Linked DNA regions of Homo sapiens: all the other regions are linked to region 2. The links are contacts of gene promoters, found by promoter capture Hi-C in human tissues and cell types (Jung and others, 2019). All regions are on one chromosome and are shown on one strand. Each heading gives the region's core, a stretch centred on a gene start or on the middle of the fragment in contact. The rest is flanking DNA. Distances are from core to core; before and after follow the strand shown.

Region 1 (4,354 bases), core at 1,226-3,725, 140 kb after region 2:
TGCCTATAGCAGTGTTAGCAAACTATGGCCCACAGGCCAAACCAGCTGGCCACCTGTTTTGTAAATAATGTTTCATTAGAACAGTCATGCTCATAAATACAAATACAAAAATGCTCCCATCCCCTTTGCAAATAGCATGATCAGGAAAATTGTCTCCCTTTGAAATATAACTTCCTATGAAGCTCCTATTAACCAGAGCTTTGAGAGCATGGCATGTGCCCAGTGTTGAGGACACAAGGCTAGGCCACAGATAATGAACTCTTCCCCAGCAACCCCTGCAATGACCCTCCTCCCTGGGGGTCTGTGGATACTTCCCCTGCCTCCTTCTCCCCTATTTACATGCCAGGGCTAAGAGGGTGATAGACAAGCGTGAAACAAAATTACTTTCCATGTGAAACAGGCTACCCTACTTTGGCTGCCAAATGAAAATGCGAAAAGGTTCAAAAATACAGTTTCTTGATGGATTGAAGATTGTGGAAACGGTGAGAAGGAAATGAGGCGGCCACTAGGGAAGCCCAGAGGAGATGTGGTGAGGCACCTAACATCCCCCTCTTCTACAAACCTTCAACCCCAGCTGGGATGCACAGTAAGAAAATTCAAGCTTCTTGGCCCGGCACGGTGGCTCACGCCTGTAATCCGAACACTTTGGGAGGCTGAGGCAGGCGGAGTACCTGAGCTCAGGAGTTTGAGACCAGCCTGGGCAACACGGTGAAAACCCGTCTCTACTAAAATACAAAAAAAAAAATTAGCTGGATGTGGCAGCGTGCACCTGTAGTCCCAGCTACTCGGGTGGCTGAGGCAGTAGAACTGCTTGAACCCAGGAGGCAGAGGTTGCAGTGAGCCGAGATCGCGCCACTGCACTCCAGCCTGGGCAACAGAGCGAGACTCTGTCTCCAAAAAAAAAAAAAAGAAAATTAAAGCTTCTTTTAGGCCTCCCGTCATTGCAGCAACTGCACTGTCAAAGGTACAGCATCATCATCTGACCCAACAACCTCCAGGTAAGATATAGCAAGGATCCTCAGCCTGGGACTTGGCTCCATCCAATGCTTTGGAAGGGGAATCTGGCTTGACATTACAGGTCTCCTGCAGGCTCCCTCATCACTCTCCGATGATGGGTCTCCTTCCTCAAAGCTCCAGGTCATTGCTGACATTGGTTGACCCTGCTGCCTAGAGCAAACTATGGCCCATGGGCCAAACCAACCATTTTGTAAATAATGTTTTACAATAATGTATCTACAAAATAGCACCTATTTTGTAAATCACGTTTCAATAGAATACAGTCATGCTCATTTATTTATATCAGACCTCCCTCCCCCCAGTTACATTTTGGGTTGTGACAACTGAGGAGTGCTACTGGTATCAACTGGGTAGAGACTAGGATGCTGCTAAATATCCTACAGTTCACAGGACAGCCTTCATAACAAACAATGATCCAGCCTCAAATGTCAGCAGGCCAAGGTGGACAATACCTTGTGTATTGTTTATGGCTGCTTCTGAGCTAAAATGGGAGAGTCGAGTAGATGTGACAGAGATCACATGACCTGCAGAGCCTAAAACATGTTCTATTTGGATTTTGTACTAGTCAGGGTTTTCCATAGAAACAGAACCAATAGGATAGAGAGAAAGGAAGAAAAAAAGAGAGAGAGATTTAAGGAACTGGCTCATGTGATTATGGAGGCTGGCAAGTCCAAAGTCTGCAGGGTGGACTGGCAGGCTGAAGACCTGGGAAGAGCCAAGGTTGCAGTTTGAGTCTGAAGGCTGTCTGCTGCAGGATGCCTTCTTCCTCAGGGGAGGTCAGTCTTTGTACCATTCAGTCCTTTGACTGATTGGATGAGGCCTACCAACATTGTGGAGGGCAACCAACTTTACTCAAAATCCACTGATTTCAATGTTAATCTCATCCAAATGTACTCTCACAGAAACATCCAGAATAATGTCTGACCAAATATCTGGGTACTGTGGTCCAGCCAAATTGACACATAAAATTAACCATCAAAGCCAGGCGCCGTGGCTCACACCTGTAATCCCAGCACTTTGGGAGGCCAAGGTGGATGGACTGCGAGGTCAGGAGTTCAAGACCAGCCTGGCCAATATGGTGAAACCCTGTCTCTACTAAAAATACAAAAATTAGCTGGGCGTGATGGTGCGCGCCTGTAATCCCAGCTACTTGGGAGGCTGAGGCAGAAGAATCACTTGAATCCAGAAGGTGGAGGTTGCGGTGAGCTGAGATTGCATCACTGCACTCCAGCCGCGACAGAGCAAGACTCTGTCTCAAAAAAAAAAAAAAAAAAAATTAACCATCAAAGGCTTTTACAGAAAAAGTTTGTAGAACCCTCGGAGTCCCACCTCACCAGAGCTGAAGACTTGTTGGATTAACCTCATGAGAGGATTTTAGGTGGGCGTGACTTTGGATGTCAAGGAGAATGGAGAGTAAGCTGTGATCAGAACGCTGTGGTCATGCCTCCATGGCTCTAGCTGACTCCCCCAAGGGCAAAGTCCACCCTGACCCTCCCCTATGGACACAGTCCTTAGTTTACAATGTAATTTCACATTTTTTTTTTATTTGAAACGACCCTTTAAGGTAGAGTCCGGGGAGATGATACTGTTTCACTGATAAGCAAACTGAGGCCCAGAGAGGTGAGGTAATACCACACAGGGAGTTCGGGTGAGAATGGTGATCTCCTGGTTCCCAGTTTGGTGTTCTTGGGAATCACAATTCACTCTAGGGTGACCAACTGTTCTGTGTTGCTGTTGTTGTTGTTGTTGTTGTTTGAGATGGAGTCTTGCTTTGTCACCCAGGCTGTAGTGCAGTGGCACGATCTTGGCTCACTGAAACCTCCGCCTCCTGGGTTCAAGAGATTCTCCTGCCTCAGCTTCCCGAGTAGCTGGGACGACAGGCATTTACTACCACGCCCGGCTAATTTTTGTATTTTTAATAGAGACGGGGTTTCACCATGTTGGCCAGGCCAGTCTCGAACTCCCCACCTCCCGACCTCAGGTGATCCACCCACCTTGACCTCCCAAAGTACTGGGATTGCAGGGGTGAGCCACCGTGCCTGGTCCTGTTCTGGTTTTTATAGGCCCAAGAGATTTCCTGGAATGCAGGATTTTAGGTGCTAAAACTGGGGAAATCTGAGGCAAACTGGGACAAACTGATCACCCCACTTTGCCACCTCATGGATGTCTGACCTCAGTTACCCTAGCACTAAGTAGAATTAGCCAGCCAGGAGCTCAAGGCCCTGGGGAGACCCCTCAGTTAGGTGTGATGTGAGCAGACTGCCAGCACGGGCACCAACCGGTGTGTGTCCCTTTTCTCCAAACTCGAGAACAGAAATGTGATGGCAGCTTGAAGGGGGCTGGAAGGAGCTCTAGAACCCAGAGGTGAGACCTGCCTCAGCCTGCACCCCCTTTAGCAGCCAATGCCCCTGCTTGCCCCTAAGTTTCTCCATCTCTAAAATGATGATCTTTGGGTGCACCTAATAAATATTTACATTTTTACATTATACTTTCTTCTAGCACCGGAACTAATATTCATTCATTATCATAGACTTGGGGGGAATAAAAAGAGGAAAAAAAAAAGTTTTAACATCTAAATTTCCACTAATTCTAGTTTTTCCTAGATTTTTTTTCCATGTACAAAATTTATGCTTACTTTCACTCACTAGTGATTATACTATACAATTTTATTAGGTTTTTCCTTTTTTTATAACCTTTTCGTTTTTAAAAAAATTCTTACTAGATTATAAAATTGGTGAAAATATGAAAAACACATGAATAAAAAAGCCAATAGTAATCATCACCTATAATGCCACATATGTAAATATATATATACATATATAAATATATACACGTGTATATATAAATATAAACATCTATTTTCCTAGGCATATATGTGTTTACATTTATACGTGTATGTGTGTATATATTTAAATATGTATATATATTTACAAATAGGAGATAGTTATAGATATTTTAAAATACACATATATATACACAATACATGTGTTTATATAAACACATACTTTATGTATCTGTTTATAATTTATTTTTATTATAAAATTAATATATTTTCATTAGAAAAAATTCAAACACTCATAAATAAGCTTTCTCTTAGCCTCAAAACCATCCCTCAGAGATAATAACCCCTATTTTCAATTTGGTATCTATCTTTACAGGCATTTATTTCATTTGTAGGTATACATGTGTCTACATTTTTAACACAGATAGGATCTTAACATAGTACTGTTCTGTGACTTGCCTTTTCACTTAAAATATTATTGGCATATTCATAGAATGTTCTCTCCTGCTTTATTCACTTAACTTTCAAAGATAACTTCTAGACTTTTTATAAACT
Region 2 (4,373 bases), core at 1,165-3,664:
TTTATGAATTCTAATCTTCTACGGAGAAAGACAACGTAGAAGATTAGAAACTGAATTCATCTTTATTTTCCCCATGCCCCTCCAAAATTTGTTCCAATTCCTACCTTCTTTATGCCTAAGGCTAAACACCATTATACCAAGCTCTAAATTTTGGAATCACTGGTGACTCTCCTCCCCTTCCAGTATTCTCTAACCTCTTCCAATCAGTTGCCAAGTCCTGCTGTTTCTCACTTAACAGTCTCCCATTTGCCTCCTTTCCCCTCATCTTCACTGCCCATGCTCTGGTTTGCATATTTTTCATCTTTCACTTGAATTGGCACAACAGCCCCTTACTGGTCTCCATATTTTTTTTCTTTCTTCCTTCCTCAACCCATTATCCAAATGCTGCCATTATACTCTTCCTAAAGGACATAACAAACAATAGGTAAAGCTCTGAATACATCCCTTTACACACTTCTTTAACTCTCACAATCGACCTACAAGAGTGATATTATCCATTTTATAGACAAGGAACCAAAGGTTCTGAGAGATTATGAGACCTGTCCAAGGATATACAGTTAAAAAACAATGGCGCCAGATTCAGCCCAGATCTGTGCAGTTCCAAAGCCCATGCTAAACTGTATCCTGTCATCTCTTGCCTAAATATCCCTACTCACACTCCCCTATCCCATCTTTCCCTTCACCTGAAAGAATTCATCTTGTTCTCCGAAATTCATCTCAAACATTTTCCAATAGAAAGCTTTCCAATTTCCCCTCCCCAAGGCTATGTTTCCACAACATTGGTGTTTACCTTTATCATATATCTGGCTTCAATGCAATTCTTTATTCATGTCTGTTTCCTCTTCTAGGCTCTCTGCTCCTTTAGAGCAACAATCATATCTTTTTCATCTCCACAACCCAGTATATAGCCAAGTGTGCACTACATAGGTGTTCAACATATGTGAATGAATTAGCTAAATTTTAAACAACTAGATAGTAAGGACAAGAGTCTATATCCTTTACATCTACTAAAACACCCAGCAATGCTTCCTCATAATAGCTAAAATAATTCTGTTTGAACGAACGAATTAACATCTGTATAGATTCCCTCATACACACCTACATAGATGAAGAGAGGGGTGAAATGAGCATATATGCTTTACTGCTTTAACCCATAGGCACCTTGAATTTGAGTAAATAACGGATAATAGAATAGTGAAGGGTAATTAAGAAAGCCTGATGGTATAACTAATTCCAAGGAACATCAAGTTTCCAAATATCTGGTGTCTCTGAAGCATGATGCTGGGAAGACAGATCATCAGTTTGACTTACAACAGAATTACAAATACGTACTTATTCAGGGGACATTAAATTTTTCTTCCTCTGGTGTCTAACAAAAATGAGTCCCCAAAAACTCTTTAGAACATGCCTTCACAACAGGATATGACTGCCATTTTATTGATAAGAAAACTGACATTACATAGACTAAAAATACATAGCAGTGCAGTTGGTGAAAGTAATGAAACAGAGGTCTGCTAACCAACAAACACGGACCCTCACTTATTCCTCTCATTTCTCTCTTCTGTTTCCTACGTTCTTGGGAAGCCTGGATATGATAGCCAAGTCTTCCTTTCGTTCACTCAAGAAAAAGCATTTAATGTTGACCAACTCTGAGACAGGAAAAGCCTAGGCCCTGGAGCTACTGAGACACAGCCTTAGCCCTCCATATGCTTAGTGAAGTCCAGTCAACCTCTGAGTTCTGCCCTTTGGCATCTCCACACCTTTTTTGGTGTTCCCTCGTCTAAAGCACCTGCATCTTTCTCTGGCCATTTTACTAATATAACCGGAGTCTTACTCGTAGCTCATTAACTTTAGGCCTCACTGAGGGAACCTGGGCACTCAGGTGTTCACCCATCTCCTCTACCACAACTTTCTGTTCTCACCGTGCTCTCACCACAGCACCGTCATCCCCACGGAGGGTTTTCGAGCACCAAAAGAGCCACCCATGCAAACAAACTCCCCTCCCAGAGATAAATCTGTCAACCCCTGCCGTCCTCTCGCTCTTTAGCCCCACAACTTTCACTACCGGGCCCTCTCCCCGCCATAGTGCCAAGAGCGTCCAGACCACGACTAGGGGGCGTGCGCGCGCCGGGAGGGGAAACGTGCGCGCGCCGGGGGGTGGGGGGGCGCCTAGCCCAGCGCCAGCACGGACCATGCACAGATCAGCAATCGCTGGCCGCCAGGCCTTCGGAGGGTCTGTCCGCCGCGGCTTCCGCTACGGGCGGCCTCGCACCTTCTGGCTCAGTACGCGGGACTGGCGTAGCCGCTCCTCGGCACTCATCGCCCGCAGACGCTGCTTCAGCTCTCCCCGCAGGCTCCGCTTGGCGCTGCTCACCGCTGCCGCCGCCATCTCACGCCCAAGCCGAGTCCAGTCCCGCCCTCGGCGCCCTGGGCGCCCTCGGGTTCGGTCTCCGCCCCTGGCCGCTCCCAGGTGGATCCGCGGCCTAGGGGCGGGTCGGGGCTCGGGGAAGCGCCCCCACCCCGCTTCCGGGACGCGGGCCCGCGGCGCGCCGCGCGCTTACCTCGCCTCTGGCCCTTGGGACCCAGCCCTCGTGCGGTCCCCGTGGTCCGGCTCGCCCTCCCCGGTTAGGGGAGCGGTGGCGAGGCGCCGTCGCTGCCCTGCCGCCTGACCTCCCTGAGCCTGGGCCCTCACCGGGACCGCGGAGGCGGCAGCGCCACTGGCGGGGATGGTAAAGATGGCCGGCAGTACCCACGGTGCCTGGCATCTCTTGTACTGTTCAGTAGTGGGACTTCAGGGGCCAGAAAAGAAGGGCAAGGCAGGACATGTAGCGAAATCGTCACGAGTCGCTTAACTACAGGGATAGGTCTGACAGATGCCCCGATTTCCTTCTTGTGCAAACATCAGAGTGTAGTTACACAAAGTTACTACACACCTATGCTACACACCTGTACAGCGTATTTTGTACCGAATACTGTAGGCAATTGTAAGCACCGTGATACTTGTGTATCTAAACACAGAAAAGGTAATGTGTTGGTTGGCTACCACATCAGTAGGTATTAGGAATTTTTCAGCTCCATTATAATCTTAAGGGACCACAGTGGTTGATGGAAATGTCCTTATGTGATGAATGTATAGATGATACATAATCGGGAACACTGCTAAAGCAATAACTGTAGTGTAAAAGCCAAATTTTGCGGGTTTCTAGTGTGAATGTATTCCAGGTAATAGTGCCCACATAGGTACTTCCTGTTATAACCATCAGTGACTGTTCATTCCCACCACTCAGCTCTGATTAAAACACAAAAATGAATTAAAACTAAAAGCAGTTGGGGGGTGGGTGAGGCACTTGCAGGAAGAGGTAAAAGAAACTGTTAAGTCTTAAACTGCTCCCAGTAGACAGGCGCCTCAGATGGCATAGACGGTTGCCTCTCAGATGTGACTTCCTAAGAAAACCAGAGCTGTCTCTGCCAAAAATACGTCCCTACTGACCGCCCCAGTGTCTTAATCCCCACCGTTAAGAATCACACCTCCTAGGTAAAGCATTAATTAAGTGCCCGGTGAGAATGCACATGGCTTGAGAGGGGAGTTCTGGCTTCTTTATGGAATCTATCAACAGCTTCCAGGGAAAGCTAATGCAAGTCCCAGGGGGACTGTGTTGTAAGAAAAAGGGAAGGCCAGGCAGGTACAGCGTATACATAGTGCAATTAGATTTGCTGACCTAAAAGTTAGAACACGAGGTCTAACAAACTACGTACTTTTCTAATCTGTTCATTTTTACCAAAAAATAAAAATTAAAATTAACACTAGCTCCACGTTGAATCATTTACCAATTTTCTTTGTTCAGAATATCCCAGAGTATCCTGCATATCAGGTTGCCATATCCATCAACCCCAAATGGCAAGCCAGAGAGAGAAGGCTGGGGAGGAGGCATCAATGGAAACTCTTAAGCAGCCAGGGGCACTGGAAACTGCAGAAAGCATGGGAAGGAAGGAGGGAAGAGGGAAGCCGACCTGAGTCTGCTTCTAGCCTGAGTCCGCTTCTCAGTCTAGTCTGCAGTCTAGCCTAGTGACACAGAAAAGGACTTTTGGGGTAATGGCACACCTTAAAAGTCTGCCTGGGGCAGAAAAGACACCGCCTTCCTGGTCATCATCCCATAATTAATTGCCTGGATCCTGTGTTGAGCTTTTACCCTTTGGCTGAATTTCCAGCCAGACTCCAAAACTGAAGACAAAAATGGCATATAGAGAAAAATACATACAATTTATTCATTAAATAGGGACAAAATTTCTGTAACTCTGGAAGGTCAAGTTACATCATCAAAGTTGTTTATTTAAAAGTAGAAGTATGTGTTGGCAATCGTTTTCGTAAGAGT
Region 3 (4,869 bases), core at 1,723-4,222, 180 kb after region 2:
CTCATCTTTATGTCCTTGTGTACTCAGTGCTTAGTTCCCATTTATAAGTGACAACGTGGTATTTGGTTTTCTGTCCTGCATTAATTCACTTAGGATAATGGCCTCCAGCCCCATCCATGTTGCTACAAAGAACATGATTTTGTTCTTTTTTATGGCTGCACAGTATCCCATAATGTATATGTACCACATTTTCTTTATGTAGTCCACTGTTGATGGGCACCTAGGTTAATTCTATGTCTTTGCTCTTGTGAATAGTGCTGTGATGAACATAAACGAGTGCATGTGTCTTTTTGGTAAAATGATTTATTTTCTTTTGAGTATATACCCAGTAATGGGATTGCTGGGTCTAATGGTAGTTGTGTTTTAAGTTCTTTGGGAAATCTCCAAATTGTTTTCCACAGTGGCTGGACTAATTGACATTAACACCAACAGTGTATAAGCATTCCATTTTCTGGGAAACTTCACCAACATCTGTCATTTTTTTGACTTTTTAATAATAGCCATTCTGACTGGCTTGAGATGATATTTTGATTTTGATTTGCATTTCTCTAATGATTAGTGATGGTAATGTTGAGCATTTTTTCATGTATTTGTTGGCTGTATTTATGTCTTCTTTTTTTTTTCATTTGCTCAATTATTTTATTTTATTATTATTATACTTTAAGTTTTAGGGTACATGTGCACAGTGTGCGGGTTAGTTACATATGTATACATGTGCCATGCTGGTGTGCTGCACCCATTAATTTGTCATTTAGCATTAGGTATATCTCCTAATGCTATCCCTCCCCCCTCCCGCCACCCCACAACAGTCCCCAGAGTGTGTCTTCTTTTGAGAAGTATGTGTTCTTTTGCTCGTTTTTTAATGGGATTATTTGTTTCTTGCTTGTTGAATTCTGGATATTAGACCTTTGTCAGAGGTGCAGTTTGTGAGTATTTTCTCCTATTCTGTAGATTATCTGTTTACTCTGTTCTTTCTTTCCTTTTTTTTTGGAGACGGAGTCTCGCTCTGTCGCCCAGGCTGGAGTGCAGTGGCGCGATCTCGGCTCACTGCAAGCTCCGCCTCCTGGGTTCACGCCATTCTCCTGCCTCAGCCTCCCAAGTAGCTGGGACCACAGGCACCCGCCACCACGCTTGGCTAATTTTTTGGATTTTTAGTAGAGACGGGGTTTCACCGTGTTAGCCAGGATGGTCTCGATCTCCTGACCTCATGATCCGCCCACCTCGGCCTCCCAAAGTGCTGGGATTACAGGCGTGAGCCACCGCACCCGGCCTACTCTGTTCTTTCTTTTGCTGTTCTTTTGGTATACATTAAATAATAAAAATGTAAAATAATGACAATAGATTTTGAATGTTATAATAGATTTATGTGATATATAATTTGAAAAGAATGTTTTCCTTAGCTTTTTTTTTTTTTTTTTTGAAATGGAGTCTCGCTGTGTCGCCCAGGCTGGAGTGCAGTGGCGCAAACTTGGCTCACTGCAAGCTCTGCCTCCCAGGTTCATGCCATCCTCCTGCCTTAGCCTCCCCGAGTAGCTGGGACTACAGGCGCCCGCCACCACGCCCAGCTAGCTAATTTTTTGTATTTTTAGTAGAGTCGGGGTTTCACCGTAGCCAGGATGGTCTCGATCTCCTGACCTTGTGATCCACCTGCCTCGGCCTCCCAAAATGCTGGATTACAGGCATGAGCCACCACGCCTGGCCCTTAGCTTTGAGAAACAGAATACACAACCGTTTTTCTGTTTTTTTTCCCTTTCTTTTTTTTTTCTTTGAGATAGAGTCTTGCTCACCCACCCAGGCTGGAGTGCAGTGGTGCAATCTCCAGTCACTGCAACCACCATCTCCAGGGTTCAAGCAGTTCTCCCGTCTCAGCCTCCGAGTAGCTGGGATTACAGGCACCCACCATCATGACCAGCTAATTTTTGTATTTTAGTAGCTACGGGGTTTCACCATGTTGGCCAGGCTGGTCTTGAATTCCTGACCTCGGGTGATCCACCCACTTCGGCCTCCCAAAGGGCTAGGGTTACAGGCATGAGCCACTGCACCCGGCCTACACAACCAGTTTTCTTAAATTTTGTAGATAATTGTTTAAAATTATATATACAGTAGTTGCCCCTTATTCATGGGAGATATGTTTGAAGACCCACTGTGGATAGTACCAAACCTATATTTGCTGTGTTTTGTCCTATACATAAATACCTATGACATAGTTTTATAAATTAGACATAGTAAGACATTAACAATAATAGAATAATTATACTGTAATAAAAGTTATGTGATATCATCTCCCTCCCTCTTTCTCTCAAAATATCTTAGTATCTTCAGGCTGTGGTTGATCTCAGGTAACTGAAACAGCCGACAATGAAATCTTGGATGTGTTAGGTCATTCTTGCATTACTATACAGAAATACGTGAGACTGAGTATAAAAAGAGGTTTAATTGGCTCATGGTTCTTCAGGCTGTGCAGGAGACATGGCACCAGAGATCTGCTCAGCTTGTGATCATGCCTCAGGAAGCTTACAATCACTGCGGAAGCAAAGAGGGAGCTGGTGCATCACATGACAAAAGCCAGGAGCTAAAGAGAGTGGGGTGCGGAGAGGTACCACACACTTTTAAGCAGCCAGATCTTGTGAAAACTATCTCAAGGACAGCACCAAGGGGATGGTGTTAAGCTATTCATGAGAACTCCTCCATCCCCATCATCCAGTCACCTCCCATCAGGCCCCACCTCCGATACTGGGGATTACAGTTCACCATGAGATTTGAGTGGGGACAAATACACAAACTTTATCAGTTGATAAGGGTGGACTACTGTAAGGTTATCTTTTCTCTGAATGAATACTAAGTCTCAGTAGCTGTAGGAATTTAAAAAATACATTTACTTTTTGTAGAAAAAATTTATTCTTTGCAGACTTTCAAATGAAAACCTACACTGAAAAGGTGACATTGATTGCCTAAAATAATTGTTTCAGTAACAAATTTTTATTGAGTTGTGTGCATACAGCCTAGTCAGATAGTCAGACTAGTTACACAGTCAGATGAGCTTGTAAAGTACTGTAAAATGGTCCTTTTCTGGAGGAAACTCACATACTGTTTGATAAAAGTAGGGGATATGAGTATTTCCTATCTGATAAGTCAGTGTTAAAGACTTTAGACAAATTTAATGGAATTTAATTGAGCAAAAAGCGATTCAAGAACCAAGCAGCTCCCAGAACCAGAACAGTTCAGGAGGACTGCAGAGTACCGTATTGTCAAATAACATATTGTCAGATAACATTTATGGTCAAGAAAAGGGAAGTGACATGCATACAGCAAAGGGAAGTGAGGTACAGTAACAGCTAGATTAGTTACAGCTCAGCCTTTGCCTCATCTGAACACAATTTGAACAGTTGGCCACCTATGATTGGCTGAAACTCAGCTACTGTGATTGGCTGAGACTTGGCTACTTATTACAAGAGTAGGTTACAGTCTGCTTACATATCAAGTTAACTTTATAGTGCACTATGTAGAGAGAAACTTTGGGCCAAACCTAAAATATGGATGGAGGCAGCCTCGGGCCAGACTTAATTTAGTTTAATGTCAGGATCATATATTACTGAGTGCAAACTTGTGTTTGTTATAGATGATTGCTGTAGAAGTTCAAGTGGGAAGAAAGATAAGCCAAGATAATAAGAAAATTAGAAAAAGTAAAATCTGAGACATTCCTTGAAGATTTGTTAGATAGGTTTGAGACTGGATGTACACTAAAAGCTTTATTTACCCGGAAAGAGGCAATCCTGGAATGGCAAAATGGAGGGAGTAATAGATTCTGGATATGCCAACCAAAATTTTGCTGGTTTAGCAGGTGCCATTTAATTTCTCATTTTTCCAGTAAGCCCAGGTGGGGAAGAGGTATGGAGTATACATAGGATATGGGAATGGTGTGACTGTGAGCAGTGGTGAATTATGAAGGCTTCTATGCAAATAAGTGGTAAAAACAGGGTTTGGAATATTAATTTAATTGCAACTCATATTGGACACTATCAGACACATTAACTTTAAGTTCTCACAATATCATGAGATGGGTATTATTGTTGTGCCTATTTCGCAGATGATAATGCTAAGTTTATAGAGAGATAGGAAAAATTGACAAAGGTTAAACAGGTTTATAGACAGATAGGACAAATTGACAAAGGTTATGTGGCAGAGCCTAGATTGAAATTGGGAAGGCTGATACCAGAGCATGATCTTGCTATTCAGGTTTACTTAGAGAGGGAAGGTTTACTTAGGGAGAGGAATTCAAGGCAGGGAGACTACCAGTTGTTGTTTTTGAAGTTCTGTGGTAATGTGAGTAATTTTACTAATGTTCCTAAACCTTTGGGTTTGGTATCTCAATATCACTGTCAAGTGACTTTCTGGGAAAGGTAGGAAAGATTGACAGATGGATATAGCAGGGATTATTCATTCTTATTTTAGTGAGTGTCAAAGGATGGAAACTGGTAAGAGTTCCAGATATTTAAGGAGTTTATTATGAGGATTGGACCATGCTTCCCTCCTTGTTTTGCTGAGTTTATATCTTCTGGTTCTTTGATTTCCTATGAACTAAAAATCAGAATTCCATCTTAGAAATTTATTATTCAATTGAACTGCCCTCACCTCCCTTAATTTTCTTTTATAAAGTTTTCTCTGAGGTGGATATGGGATAGAAAAAATGATGGTGGACTGAGCACCTACTATGTATCCTATACATATATACATATGTTATTTTATTTATTTATTTATTTTGAAATGGAGTCTCACTCTGTCGCCCAGGCTGGAGTGCAGTGGCGCGATCTTGGCTCACTGCAAGCTCCGCCTCCTGGGTTCACGCCATTCTCCTGCCTCAGCCTCCCG

The links. Contacts are between HindIII fragments. The study calls those that stand out against the background at their distance.
Region 1: a contact is called between a fragment that was not itself captured here and the fragment with the promoter of MTHFS in region 2, in 3 of the 25 tissues and cell types used here (IMR-90 fibroblasts, lymphoblastoid cells and spleen).
Region 3: a fragment that was not itself captured here is called in contact with the fragment with the promoter of MTHFS in region 2 in 1 of the 25 tissues and cell types used here (lymphoblastoid cells).

What each region holds. Positions count from the first base shown.
Region 1 is chr15:80,036,549-80,040,902 of GRCh38, forward strand. No RefSeq gene overlaps it. Among named protein-coding and RNA genes, the nearest start is that of ZFAND6, 21 kb to the right of the region's middle. RefSeq lists an enhancer at 3,161-3,660. The HindIII fragment of the contact is 5,767 bases long and covers 1-4,354 here.
Region 2 is chr15:79,894,600-79,898,972 of GRCh38, forward strand. MTHFS (methenyltetrahydrofolate synthetase) reads right to left here and starts at 2,415. Exons shown (of 3, transcript NM_006441.4): 1 at 2,273-2,415. The coding sequence starts at 2,389. The region is part of intron 2 of ST20-MTHFS (ST20-MTHFS readthrough); the gene reads right to left. It overlaps ST20 (suppressor of tumorigenicity 20), which reads right to left. Exons shown (of 3, transcript NR_037653.2): 3 at 4,243-4,373. RefSeq lists a silencer at 2,424-2,723 and an enhancer at 2,864-2,913. The HindIII fragment of the contact is 7,261 bases long and covers 1-4,373 here.
Region 3 is chr15:80,078,249-80,083,117 of GRCh38, forward strand. All of the region lies in intron 1 of ZFAND6 (zinc finger AN1-type containing 6), which reads left to right. Among named protein-coding and RNA genes, the nearest start is that of ZFAND6, 21 kb to the left of the region's middle. The HindIII fragment of the contact is 4,595 bases long and covers 676-4,869 here.